Regions from separate parts of the Homo sapiens genome. Here region 2 is linked to region 1. The links are contacts of gene promoters, found by promoter capture Hi-C in human tissues and cell types (Jung and others, 2019). All regions are on one chromosome and are shown on one strand. The core of a region is centred on a gene start or on the middle of the fragment in contact, and the rest is flanking DNA. Distances in the headings are between cores, read along the strand shown. Region 1 holds the start of ANKRD31 (ankyrin repeat domain 31). Region 2 overlaps POLK (DNA polymerase kappa).

What was found. The method cuts DNA at HindIII sites, captures the fragments that hold promoters and counts their contacts. A contact is called where the count stands out against the background at its distance.
Region 2: a fragment that was not itself captured here is called in contact with the fragment with the promoter of ANKRD31 in region 1 in 1 of the 25 tissues and cell types used here (spleen).

The regions. Positions count from the first base shown.
Region 1 is chr5:75,234,099-75,240,368 of GRCh38, forward strand. ANKRD31 (ankyrin repeat domain 31) reads right to left here and starts at 2,780. Exons shown (of 26, transcript NM_001372053.1): 1 at 2,485-2,780. The coding sequence starts at 2,588. LOC124901006 (a long non-coding RNA gene) reads left to right here and starts at 2,940. Exons shown (of 2, transcript XR_007058823.1): 1 at 2,940-3,268. RefSeq lists an enhancer at 2,501-2,670 and a silencer at 2,721-3,020. The HindIII fragment of the contact is 20,855 bases long and covers 1-6,270 here.
Region 2 is chr5:75,561,468-75,568,334 of GRCh38, forward strand. All of the region lies in intron 3 of POLK (DNA polymerase kappa), which reads left to right. Among named protein-coding and RNA genes, the nearest start is that of ANKDD1B, 47 kb to the right of the region's middle. RefSeq lists enhancers at 4,113-5,312, 5,267-5,486, 5,507-5,586. The HindIII fragment of the contact is 3,553 bases long and covers 2,299-5,851 here.

The sequences.
Region 1 (6,270 bases), core at 1,530-4,029:
AATAATTTAGGGAAGAATTTTAATGACATTGCAAATGTTTAAAAATAATGTTAAGCGAAAACTGTAAACTTGTACAAATTGATTCAAACTTTGTAAAAGAATTATAGGTGCACACACAAAAGCCTACATAGAAAGCTGGAAGAAAATATACCAAAGTCTTAATACAAGTAGAATTAGGTCAGATTTCTATCTCATTCATGCTTCTTTTTATTGCTCATGTTTCCTATAGTGTTCCTGAATAGACAATATATTTATATGGTTCAAAATTCAAAAACCAGTATAGACTAGCCCTGATTACTCATGCTCATAGTCCTCACTACTCAGGGAGCTGAGGCAGGAAGATCACTTCAGCCTAGGAGTTAGAGGCTTCAGTGAGCTATGACTGCACTATTGCATTCCAGACTGGACAATAGTGTAAGATCCAGTCTCCAAAACAAACAATATAATAGGGTATGTAGTAAAATATCTCTCTGTCCCCTCAAATATAAGCTTTCTTTCCCACAGGCAACCAAGGTGTTTGATTGTTTTGTAATTCTTTCAGAGATATTTTCTAAGTGTATATATGTTGGAAGACAGAGGTAACACTATTTTCTAAAAACAGAAGCACTGTGTCAAAGAGTATATGTGTTTGTAATCTTGATAATTGAAATTTTTTGAGTTTTGTATTATAATTATATCTTTCTTCCTCTACAGTTATAAAAGAATCCCTTTTTGGCTTCTTGTAATACTTTTTGGTTTTTTTTTAACATTTACATCTTTGATTCATATGGAATTTTTTTGGAGTACAGTGTGAAATATGGATTCAACTAAACTATTTTCTACATACATCCTTCATCATCCCAATATCATTTTTTGAAAAATCCCATCATTTCCTCGCTGGTTTGAGATGCCACCTCTGTAATACACTAAATTCCCATATGTATGTGATTCTATTTTGGGGGTTTTTATGCTGTTTATTGATCTGTCACTTTATGTGCCAGTATCATATTTAAAATATTTTATATCAGAAAATATTTTAATATCCTATAGGTCATTACCTCCTTATTGTTCTTATTTTTCAGACTTTTCCTAATTGCTCTTATTTATTTTACGATATAAACTTTGGAATCAGTTGTCTAGTTCAACAGAAAGTCTTGCTGGTACTTTTTTTTTTTTTTTTTTTTTTGAGATAGAGTCTCACTCTGTCGCCCAGGCTGGAGTGCAGTGGAGTCATTTTGGCTCATAGCAACCTCTGCCTGTTTCTCATTACAACCAAAAACTCCGAATGAATATTTTTTAAAAACTACTCGAGAACCTTGAAAAGTAAACAATAGCAGGTAGATTGGGGACTGAAGTTGAAATCTTAATAACAACCCATTTATTGACGAGTTTCAGTTTGTTTTCGGTTTTTTGGTTCTTTTTTGTCTTTCAGCTTTGAACCATCCAGTGGGCACAGACAGTAAACCTATTTTTATCCAGAAGACCAAGGAAAATGACCCCTGCATGCCAGAAGGTATAGGACAAAGCCCAGGGCTTTATGTTGCTTTCTCTCTCACCTCCCAGCCCTGCCCCAAGGCTGGCCCTAGCCTCAGAGCAGACACCAACCATGGCAACTGGGGAACATAAAACTCAAGAGAAAGTGTCTACCAGAGGAACTGGGAAAAGGGATCGGTATTGCCTGAAAAGTGTGGACAGAATCCCCCTTTTTTCTCTCTTTTCTTAACTCTGTGCTAAAGGCTGTCCCCCTTGTAAGGAACTGCTGTATAGTGAAAAGGCTAACACTCAAAGAAACCTGTCTTTCTGATCATATGAACTGGCAAGTGGGTATGATGAGGAAAGGGGGCAGGAGAATCCTGGAGAAGAGAGAGAGGGAAAGGAGAATGACCTAATTCTGTGTACGATCCAACTTAAGTCCCAGACACAGCCCTGAGCACATATGAAGCAGACCTAGTGGCCTCATCCCTGCCCTCTTTTCCCTGTGTCTAGCACAGAGAATATGTTAGAGAAAGGTTTCGATAACCTGAAATACCGACTTTTTTGGATTCGTATAAAACTATTCGTTTCCAGTTTGGCAGGGACCAGTTTCCCCATCACACATTCTTTTCTTGAGAGAAACTGTTACCCATTTTCCTAGAACTGAGCTACGAGTCTCTTGAAGCAAAATGAAGTCTCCTGAAACAAAATGCAGTTAAGTTCAGACCCAAGATCTTTTTTGCTTGTGCAAAAAGACTTAAAGCCCCCAAAAGGAAAGCCTTTTGAAAAATGCTATAAAGCCACCTAGTACAAACCTCATTTTATCCCTAGCTGGTTGGGGGTAGGTGGGAACAGACTGTGTTTGCTTATTTACAAGCTCTCAGCTCAGGCACGGCTGCCCCACAAGGCTCTGATCCTGCCCACAAGCACATGTTCTGGTCACGATCTCCACTCAAAACTCTGACCCCCTCAGAGGGCACCTGGGCCGCCCTGGCGCGAGGGTTCAGGCACTGTGGCCCTAATGATGGTCACCTTCTCCAGGGCAGCTCCTTTTCTTCCAGGTCGCTCTCCGTCACTGAACCCTCTATCACAGTTTCATCACTGTCCCAGTCTGGGGCCTGGACGCCTTCCTCCATCTTTGCCTCACATTCAAAGTCTTTTTTACCCTCCTCTAACTCCCTCTTGCCCGCAAACAAAAAAACGCTTTGAGGGCCAGGGGAAATTGTGAATTAAAAATAAAAATAATATAATCGCAGCAGGAGCCGGGACTTGTCGCAGGGCTGCTGAGGAGGACGCAGGCGGCCGCGAGCGCGGCGGGGTAGCAGTCTGCGAGGCGGCCCGCGGGTCCCGCCGCTCGTCGCAGACAGGGGGCAGCCGCTCGCCACACGACGGAGCCCTGCGCAGCGCTCGGCCCCGCCCCCAGCTCCCGTGGCCGGAAGTGGGAGGCCGCGCGCGCGCGCGCAGGCCTACTCTGGGCGTGGCCTGCCGCTGCGTGTTTTTTTCACGGTTTCTCATTCTCGGTCGCTAGGCTTTGAGGGTGCTGGGGTTGCTGCTGCAGAGACCAGAAAGGCAGGCGTGGCGCACCCAGAACTCAGACCGAGCCTGCTTAACACCCTTGGCCGGGAGGGTGACCTGCCATGCACCTGATGCTTGTGAGCCCCAGATACGGGAAGAGCTGTCAGCTCCTGCCCGCCCCAGCAGCCCTGGCATTCTGGAGCCAGAATGCGACCTTAGACCTAAAGAGAGTTTTTGCAGCCCACCAAGTGCTTCCTTTCCCTTTAATCCCTTGACAGCCTCTCCTCAAGTGTCCTCTGAGGTAGACAAAACAGATACGTTTATCAGAAGTTTTAGCTCATCAACTAATCTCAGTGATGTATTTTGCATTTTTTTTTTCTCTCAACAACGCTTTGGTTACCTGAAATACAGATTATGCAGGAAAGGCAGGATAAATGCTTTATTTTTTCCTCTTTTATCAATTTTTATAATAATAGTAATGCCTAGCAACCTCCAAAAGTAGTCAATTGCGTTTTAATGAAGTACTAGAATTTTATATATTTGATGTGTTTCAGTCTAGTTGAACATTTTTAATTCAAACTAATTCAAAACAAAGCCAAGTGAGCTTCCACTTGCCAAGTGAGAAGAAGATTCAAGAAAAGACCAAGTTGTTTTCCCATAGCAAGTGTTTAGTATTCACCTTGGAGTCTCCAGCATCTAGCACATATAAAGTCTAAGTTTTGTCATAAATGGATGGAGCTAGAGATTTCTGACTTCCCAATTCATTGCCCTTTTCACTATATGGAGTAGCTTTGCCATTATTATCATTATTATTATTTTGTGTTTTTACTATGTATATTCAAGCCACTGCTATTTAAAATGCTTGATTGGTGATTATCTTCTAAACTTAACTTGAGGCTGGGGGTGGTGGCTCTACCTGTAACCTCAATGCATTGGAGGCCGAGGCAGGAGGATTGCTTGAGACCAGAAGTTCAAGACCAGCCTGGGCAACATGGTGAGACCCCTATCTCTGCAAAAAATTTGTTTTTAATTAGCAGGGCATGGTAGCATGGGCCTGTAGTCCCAGCTACTCAGGTTGAGGCGGGAGGATCGCTTGAGCCCAGGAGTTTGAGGTTATAATGAGCTATGATTGAGCAAACGCACTCCAGCCTGAGCAACAGAGTCATACCATGTCTCAAAAAATAAAAAAATAAACTTACTTGAATAAGTAACTTACTTAAATAAAATTCCTCGCCTCAACTCTGTAAATTAGGCAGAGCAATAATAAATATGCAAAGAACTAGACCTCTTTTTTATTTTTTTTAACAGTAGTCCATTTATACCCTCCGTGTCTAAATCAGACCTAAATTCCTATCACCTTTCCTGCTCACCCACTGTTTAATTAATTCATTAGCGCATTCTTCTGTGTTGCCCAAGCTAATCTCCAACTCCTGGGCTCAAGCTGTCCTCCCACCTCACCCTCCCAAATAGCCGGAACTACAATCTCATGCCACTATGCCCACTTCACCCATTCTTTTAATTATCCAACTCTGCTTTCACAGGAATTGGGGGATGCATACCCAGTAAATGGTGGTGAGTGGCTCCATTTGCCCCAGAGGGAAAGATGACTCCACTAGTAACAGTACTTGCTCCAAACAGCTGGTAACAAGCTAAGTGCAATAAGTCCTCACTTAATGTCTGTCGGTAGGGTCTTGGAAACTGCAACCTAAAACAAAATGACTTACAAGGAAACCAATTTTACCATTGTCTAATTGATATATATGAGAGTTAAGTTCTTACAACATATTTCTGGTCACAAAAACATTACCAAACTTGTAAATAAACACCAAAACACCTTTACTATTAAACATTGAAATAAACGTGAGCTATATATATATTTATTAAATATATATATTTAAGAAATATCTTAAATATATATCAGATATTTATTAAATATATATTTAATAATAAATATTTAATATATTTAATAAATATCTAAGATATATATTTAAGATATTTCTTAATATATTTAATATATATAATAAATATCTAAGATATATATTTAAGATATTTCTTAATATATTTAATATATATTTAATAAATATATATAAGAAATGTCATATATATTTAAGAAAGATTAATAAAAATATATATATTTAAGAAAGACTAATAAAAACAAATAAGATAATTATTTACCTAGTCATTCCAGTTCAGGGTTGAGAGTGGCTGGAGCCTATCCTGGCAGCTCAGGGCTCAAGGCAGGAGCCAACCCAGCACAGGAGGCCATTTCATTGAAGAGCGTGCTCACTCACACACACACACTCATTCTGAGACCAGTTAGATAAGTCAATGAGCCTAACATACACATCTTTGGGATGTGAGAGGAAACCAGAATACCTGGAGGAAACATGCTGACATAGGGAGAACATGCAAACTCCACATACACAGTGGCCCTGGCTGGGAAGTATAATAATTTTCTTCCCTCATCAGTGTTGAAACACCATTGAAATAAATGTTATTCGAGGATCTGCTATAGATAAATTCACATTCTTCTGGGCCTGAAATTCACATTCTTTTTAAAAATGCTTTCTCTTTTGGCGGGAAAAAGTCAGTTATTTTTGCATCATCTGTTCTCCTTTTATTTAAGAGAGTTGCTAAGATTCAAAGAATGAAAAAGAAATGGCAGAGATGAGCCTCATAAATGCCAGTGTGATTTTAAATAAACCTTTTTTTGTTTGTTTTTATGAAATCCAAAGTTTCAGTGCAGGACAGAGGTGGAAAAATGAACAGAAGATCTGTTTTAGGAAATCTAGGCTGCAGTACAATTCATACTGGTTTAAGCAGGGTGAGTTGAGTCATGTAATTGAACCAAGGAGAGGTTTCCCAGGTATTTCAGGAATGGCAGGAATCAGGTACTGCAACTGTGTTTCAAAGGAAATAGAGCTCAGCTTTCTTTTGAATTAGTTTGAATTTTCAAATAGATTAAAACATCGCCGAGTATGTAAAAATCTGTAAACATTATTATTAAAAAATAATAATTGGCTACTTTTGGAGGTTGCTAGACACCATTTATTATTCTAAAATTAATAACGATAAAAAGACTTTATCCTGCCTCTCCTATACACTTTATATTCAGAATAACCATAGTTAATGAGGGGGAAAAAAAATTTTTTTTTGAGACGGAGTTTCGCTCTTGTCGTCCAGGCTGGAGTGCTATGGCGCGATCTTGGCTCGCTGCAACCTCCCACCTCCCGGGTTCAAGTGATTCTCCTGCCTCAGCCTCCCAAGGAGCTGGGATTACAGATATGTGCCACCTCACCCGGC
Region 2 (6,867 bases), core at 2,825-5,324, 330 kb after region 1:
CTGCTGATAGTTTATTCTGCTGTGCAGAAGCTCTTTAGTTTAATTAGATCCCATTTGTCAATTTTGGCTTTTGTTGCAATTGCTTTCAGTGTTTTAGTCATGAAGTCTTTGCCCATGCCTGTGTCCTGAATGGTATTGCCTAGGTTTTCCTCTAGGGTTTTTATGGTTTTAGGTCTTATATTTAAGTCTTTAATCCATCTTGAGTTAATTGTTGTATAAGGTGTAAGGAAGGGGTCCAGTTTCAGTTTTCTGAATATGGCTAGCAAGTTTTCCCAACACCATTTATTAAATAGGGAATCCTTTCCCCATTGCTTGTTTTTGTCAGGTTTGTCAAAGATCAGATGGTTGTAGATATGTGGTGTTATTTCTGAGGCCTCTGTTCTATTCTATTGGTCTATATATCTGCTTTGTTACCAGTACCATGCTGTTTTGGCTACTATAGCCTTGTGGTATAGTTTGAAGCCAGGTAGCATGATGCCTCCAGCTTTGTTCTTTTTGCTTAGGATTGTCTTGGCTATACAAGCTCTTTTTTTGGTTCTATATGAAATTTAAAGTAGTTTTTTCTAATTCTGTAAAGAAAGTCAGTGGTACCTTGATGGGAATAGCATTGAATCTATAAATTACTTTGGGCAGTATGGCCATTTTTACCATATTGATTCTTCCCATCCATGAGTATGGAATGTTTTTCCATTTGTTTGTGTCCTCCTTTATTTGCATGAGCAGTGGTTTGTAGCTCTCCTTGAAGAGGTCCTTCACATCCCTTGTAATTTGTATTCCTAGGTATTTTATTTATTCTCTTTGTAGCAATTGTGAGTGAGAGTTCACTCATGATTTGGCTCTCTGTTTGTCTATTGGTGTATAGGAAAGTTTGTGATTTTTGCATATTGATTTGGTATCCTGAGACATTGCTGAAGTTGCTTATCAGCTTAAGGAGTTTTTGGGCTGAGACAATGGGGTTTTCTAAATATACAATCATGTCACCTGCAAACAGAGGTAATTTGACTCCCTCTCTTCCTAATTGAATACCCTTTATTTCTTTCTCTTGCCTGATTGCCCTGACCAGAACTTCCAATACTATGTTGAATAGGAGTGGTGAGAGAGGACATCCTTGTCTAGTGCTGGTTTTCAAAGGGAATGCTTCCAGCTTTTGTCCATTCAGTATGATATTGGCTGTGGGTTTGTAATAAATAGCTCTTATTATTTTGAGATACGTTCCATCAATACCTAGTTTATTGAGAGTTTTTAGCATGAAGGGGTGTTGAATTTTATCCAAGGTCTTTTCTGCATCCATTGAGATAATCATGTAGTTTTTGTCATTGGTTCTGTTTATGTGATGGATTACGTTTATTGAATTGCATATGTTGAACCAGCCTTACATCCCAGGGATGAAGCTGACTTGATTGCGTTGGATAAGCTTTTTAATGTACTGCTGGATTTGGTTTGCCAGTATTTTATTGAGGATTTTCGCATTGATGTTCATCAGGGATATTGGCCTGAAATTTTTTTGTTGTTGTTGTGTCTCTCTCAGGTTTTGGTATCAGGATGATGCTGGCCTCATAAAATGAGTTAGCGGGGAGTCCCTCTTTTTCTGTTGTTTGGAATAGTTTTAGAAGGAATGGTACCAGCTCCTCTTTGTACCTCTGGTAGAATTCAGCTGTGAATTGTTGTGTTTTTAGTAGAGGTGGGGTTTCTCCATGTTGGTCAGGCTGGTCTTGAACTCCCAACCGCAGGTGATCTGCCCGCTTCAGCCTCCCAAAGTGCTGGGATTACAGACGTGAGCCACTGTATCTGGCTGTGAATCTGTCTGGTCCTGGACTTTTTTTTGGTTGGTAGTCTGGCTAGCAGTCTGCTTATTTTGTTAATCTTTTCAAAAAAACCAGCTCCTGAACTCATTGATTTTTTTAAGGGATTTTCGTGTCTCTATCTCCTTCAGTTTTGCTCTGATCTCAGTTATTTCTTGTCTTCTGCTAGCTGTTGAATTTGTTTGCTCTTGCTTTTCTAATTATTTTAATTGTGATGTTAGGGTGTTGATTTTAGATCGTTCCTGCTTTCTCCTATGGGCATTTAGTGCTATAAATTTACCTCTAAACACTGCTTTAGCTGTGTCCCAGAGATTCTGGTACATTGTGTCTTTGTTCTCTTATTGATTTCAAAGAACTTACTTATTTCTGCCTTAATTTCATATTTATCCAGGAGTCATTCATGAGCAGGTTGTTCAGTTTCCACGTAGTTGTGCAATTTTGAGTGAGTTTCTTAATCCTGAGTTCTAATTTGATTGCGCTGTGGTCTGAGAGACTGTTATGATTTCTGTTCTTTTGCATTTGCTGAGGAGTGTTTTACTTCCAATTATGTGGTCAATTTTAGAATAATTGCGATGTGTTGCTGAGAAGAATGTATATCCTGTTGATTTGGGGTGGAAAGTTCTGTAGATGTCTATTAGGTCTGCTTGGTCCAGAGCTGAGTTCAAGTCCTGAATATCCATGTTAATTTTCTGTCTCGTTGATCTGTCTAATGTTGACAGTGGGGTGTTAAAGTCTCCCACTGTTATTGTGTGGGAGTCTAAGTCTCTTTGTAGGTCTCTAAGAACTTGCTTTATGAATCTGGGTGCTACTGCATTGGGTGCATATATGTTTAGGATAGTTAGCTCTTCTTGTTACATTGATCCCTTTACCATTATGTAATGCCCTTCTTTGTCTCTTTTCATCTTTGTTGGTTTAAAATCTGTTTTATCGGAGACTGGGATTGCAACCCCTGCTTTTTTTTCTTCTTTCTTTCTTTCTTTCTTTTCTTTCTTTCCTTTCTTTTTTGTTTGGTAAATCTTCCTCCATGTCTTTATTTTGAGCCGTTGTGTGTCTTTGCACATGGGATGGGTCTCCTGAATAGAGCACACTGATGGGTCTTGACTCTTTATCCAATTTGCCAGTCTGTGTCTTTTAATTGGGGCATTTATTTTGATCCTGTCATAATGATGCTAGCTGGTTATTTTGCCCATTAGTTGATACAGGTTCTTCAAGTGTCAGTGGTCTTTACATTTTGGTATGCTTTTGCAGTGCCTGGTACCGGTTTTTCCTTTCCATATTCAGTGCTTCCTTCAGGAGCTCTTGTAAGGCAGGCCTGGTGGTGACAGAATTCCTCAGCATTTGCTTGTCTGTAAAGGATTTTATTTCTCCTTCACTTATGAAGCTTAATTTAGCTGGATATGAAATTCTGGGTTGAAAATTCTTTAAGAATGTTGAATGTTGGCCCCCACTCTGTTCTGGCTTGTAGGGTTTCTGCAGAGAGATCTGCCGTTATTCTGATGGACTTCCCTTTGTAACCTGACCTTTCTCTCTGGCTGCCCTTAACATTTTTTCCTTCATTTCAACCTTGGTGAATCTGATGATTATGTGTCTTGGGGTTGCTCTTCTCGAGGAGTATCTTGTGTTTTTCTTTGTATTTCCTGAATTTGAGTGTTGGCGTTTCTTGCTAGGTTGGGGAAGTTCTCCTGGATAATATCCTGAAGAGTGTTTTCCAACTTGGTTCCATTCTTCTTGTCAGTTTTAGTTTCACCAATCAAATGTAGGTTTGGTCTTTTCACATAGTCCCATATTTCTAAGAGGCTTTGTTTGTTCCTTTTATTCTTTTTTCTCTAACCTTGTCTTCATGTTTTATTTCATTAAGTTGATCTTCAGTCTCTGATATCCTTTCTTCCGCTTGATCAATTCAGCTATTGATACTTGTGTATGCTTCCCGAAGTTCTTGTGCTGTGTTTTTCAGCTCCATCAGGTCATTTATGTTCTTCTCTAAACTGGTTATTCTAGTTAGCAGTTCCTGTAACCTTTTATCAAGGTTCTTAGCTTCCTTGTGTTGGGTTAGAATATGCTCCTTTAGCTCGGAGGACTTTGTTATTACCCACCTTCTGAAGCCTACTTCTGTCAATTTGTCAAACTCATTCTCCATCCAGTTTTGTTCCCTTGCTGGCATGAAGTTGGGATTCTTTGGAGGAACAGAGGTGTTCTGTTATTTGGAATTTTCAGCCTTTTTGCACTGTTTTTTCCTCATCTTTGTGGATTTATCTACCTTTAGTGTTTGATTTTGGTAACCTTTGAATGGCGTTTTTGCGTGGTTATCCTCTTTGTTGATGTTGATGCTGTTGCTTTCTGTTTGTTATTTTTCCTTCTAGCAGGACCCTCTTCTGAAGTTCTGCTGGAGTTTGCTGGAGGTCTACTCCAGACCCTGTTTGCCTGGGTATCACCAGTGGAGGCTGCAGAACAGCAAAGATTGCTGCCTGTTCCTTCCTCTGGAAGCTTCATCCCAGAGGGGCACCATCAGATGCCAGCTGGAGCTCTCCTGTATGAGGTGTCTGTCAACCCCTGCCATCAGGAGGCATTGGGGTCAGGCACCCACTTGAGGAGGCAGTCTGTTCCTTAGCAGAGCTTGAGCGCTGTGCTGGGCGATCCGCTGCTCTCTTCAGAGCCAGCAGGCAGGAATGTTTAAGTCTGCTGAAGCTGTGCCCACAACTGCCCCTTTCCCCTGGTGCTCTGTCCTAGGGAGATGGGAGTTTTATCAATAAGCCCCTGACTGGGGTTGTGGCCTTTCTTTCAGAGATGCCCTGCCCAGAGAGGAGGAATCTAGGAAGGCAGTCTGGCTACAGTGGCCTTGCCAAGCTGTGGTGGGTTCCACCCAGTTCGAACTTCCCACTGGGTTTGTTTACACTGTGAGGGGAAAACCACCTACTCAGGCCTCAGTAATGGATGACGCACCTCCCTTCACCAAGCTGGAGTGTCCCAGGTCAACTTCAGACTGCTCTGCCAGCAGCGAGAATTTCAAGCCAGTGGATCTTAGCTTGCTGGGCTCCGTGGGCGTGGGATCCGCTGAGCCAGACCACTCAGCTCCCTGGCTTCAGCCCCGTTTCCCAGGGAATGAACGGTTCTGTCTCTCTGGCGTTCAGGCACCACTGGGGTATGAAAAAAAACTCCTGCAGCTAGCTCAGTGTCTGCCCAAATGGCCGCCCAGTTTTGTGCTTGAAACCCAGGGCCCTGGTTGTGTAGGCACCCCGTGAAATCTCCTGGTCTCCAGGTTGTGAAGACAGTGGGAAAAGCGTAATATCTAGGCTGGATAGCACCATCCCTCACCAACGGCACAGTCCCTCACGGCTTCCCTTGGCTAGGGGAGGGAGTTCCCAGACCCCTTGTGCTTCCCAGGTGAGGTGACACCCCACCCTGCTTCTCCTAGCCTTTCGTGGCCTGCACCCACTTTCTAATCAGTCCCAGTGAGGTGAGCCGGGTACCTCAGTTGGAAATGCAGAAATCACCTGCCTTCTGCCTTGGTCTCACTGGGAGCTGCAGCCATCTTACCCGGGAATCCCCGAAGCCGTTATTCTTAACGAGTGTGACACACACCAGTTTTGAGCAGTAGCAAAAGGAACAACGTGCATGTTGGAGACTCAGATCAGAACTTGAAAGTCATTGGAAAATGGAAGAAAGGACAATATGAATGGGGATTTCAGTTGAAGAAACTTTTAAAAGCAGTAGTGGCATGCATCTGGTTGATGTAGAAAGAAAAGAGTTCAGACAAGGGTGACTAATGAGAGATAGTAAAGGAAAGTGGAATGTATGAGTCATGCAGTGGAGAGGTTTCCTTTTGGCAACTACACTTGCTTTAAGCACAAAAAAAGAGAATAGCTTGCTGAAGACATTATTATAGCATTAATATATGAGTCTGAGGAGAATTTTTTCCCATTTGACTTGCTTTCTATTTATTATCTTTTTCTTTTCTAGATGATTCCATGTCCAAGTATTTCAGATGCCACTTTCTTATTCTCATTTGACTGTTATTTCTTAGGTATATTTTCTGGATTAAAATAGAGTAGTTTTTAGTTTACATTTGTTTTTGTTAATCTCCATAATTTGTTTATATGTGGTCATGGTGCTATTCTCTGGTTCAGAATTGAGGTACTAAAAGAAGTAGGTTTTAATTAGCATGTTAAATTTTGGTAATATTGAAAGGTTCCATTTATTAGGTATGGGATTTTACTGTAAGAAGTTAGCCTTCTTCAAGATTTTTCTACTAGTACTCCTTTCACTTTTTAAACCAACTTTAATATACTGCTATAAATTCATTATTTTTCTCCTTCTAGTCTCCCCTCCCCGTCTCTCTTGTGAGAAAATAATTTGAAATCAGATAAGGTCTTTCTCCTGAAGGAACTGACAATTTAGTATCTAATACAGTAAGTGCCATGCAAGAGCAGGAAAGCAAGGAACATTAAATTCTGTGGCACAGAGGACAGACATTCCATTAAGATACGAAGAGATATTTCAGCTGATCCTTGAAGGCTTGTGACAGAGCTTGGAAAGGCACTCTAGACAGAGGAACAGCCTGAGGAAGGCATAGAGCAACCCAGGTCATTCAGTGAGCTGTAGCCTAAACAAGGGGAAGCCTCCTACAGATTTCACTGTACCTCCTGTAGACAAACATGAGTCAGGGTGATTGCTTCTAAAAGAGGAGTTATAGTTTTAACCTGCGACTAGTGGGCAGCTAGTGTCACAGTAAGACTAAGAAGGAAGGACATAAAAAAAATTCTGCAGAGTGGAGGCAAAGCTGGAGTACAACATGAGGGAAAAAGCCACATATACACCTATAGCTCTCCACCTTTGAGAAAACTTGCTAGAGGGAACTCCACGTTCCATAGATGACCCCACTTGCTCATTGCTGGCTGTTTTTCTCTCAGTTTTTAATGTTTTATTATGCAGCTATCCATTGATCCTTTTAGTAATAGATGTATTTATTGAACTTGTGCCATGTACCAGGTACTGTTCTATGTTCTGTATATTTTCCAGCTTATTTAATAGCTTTCTTATGATTTTTACTTTAATGGTCTTGGTAACT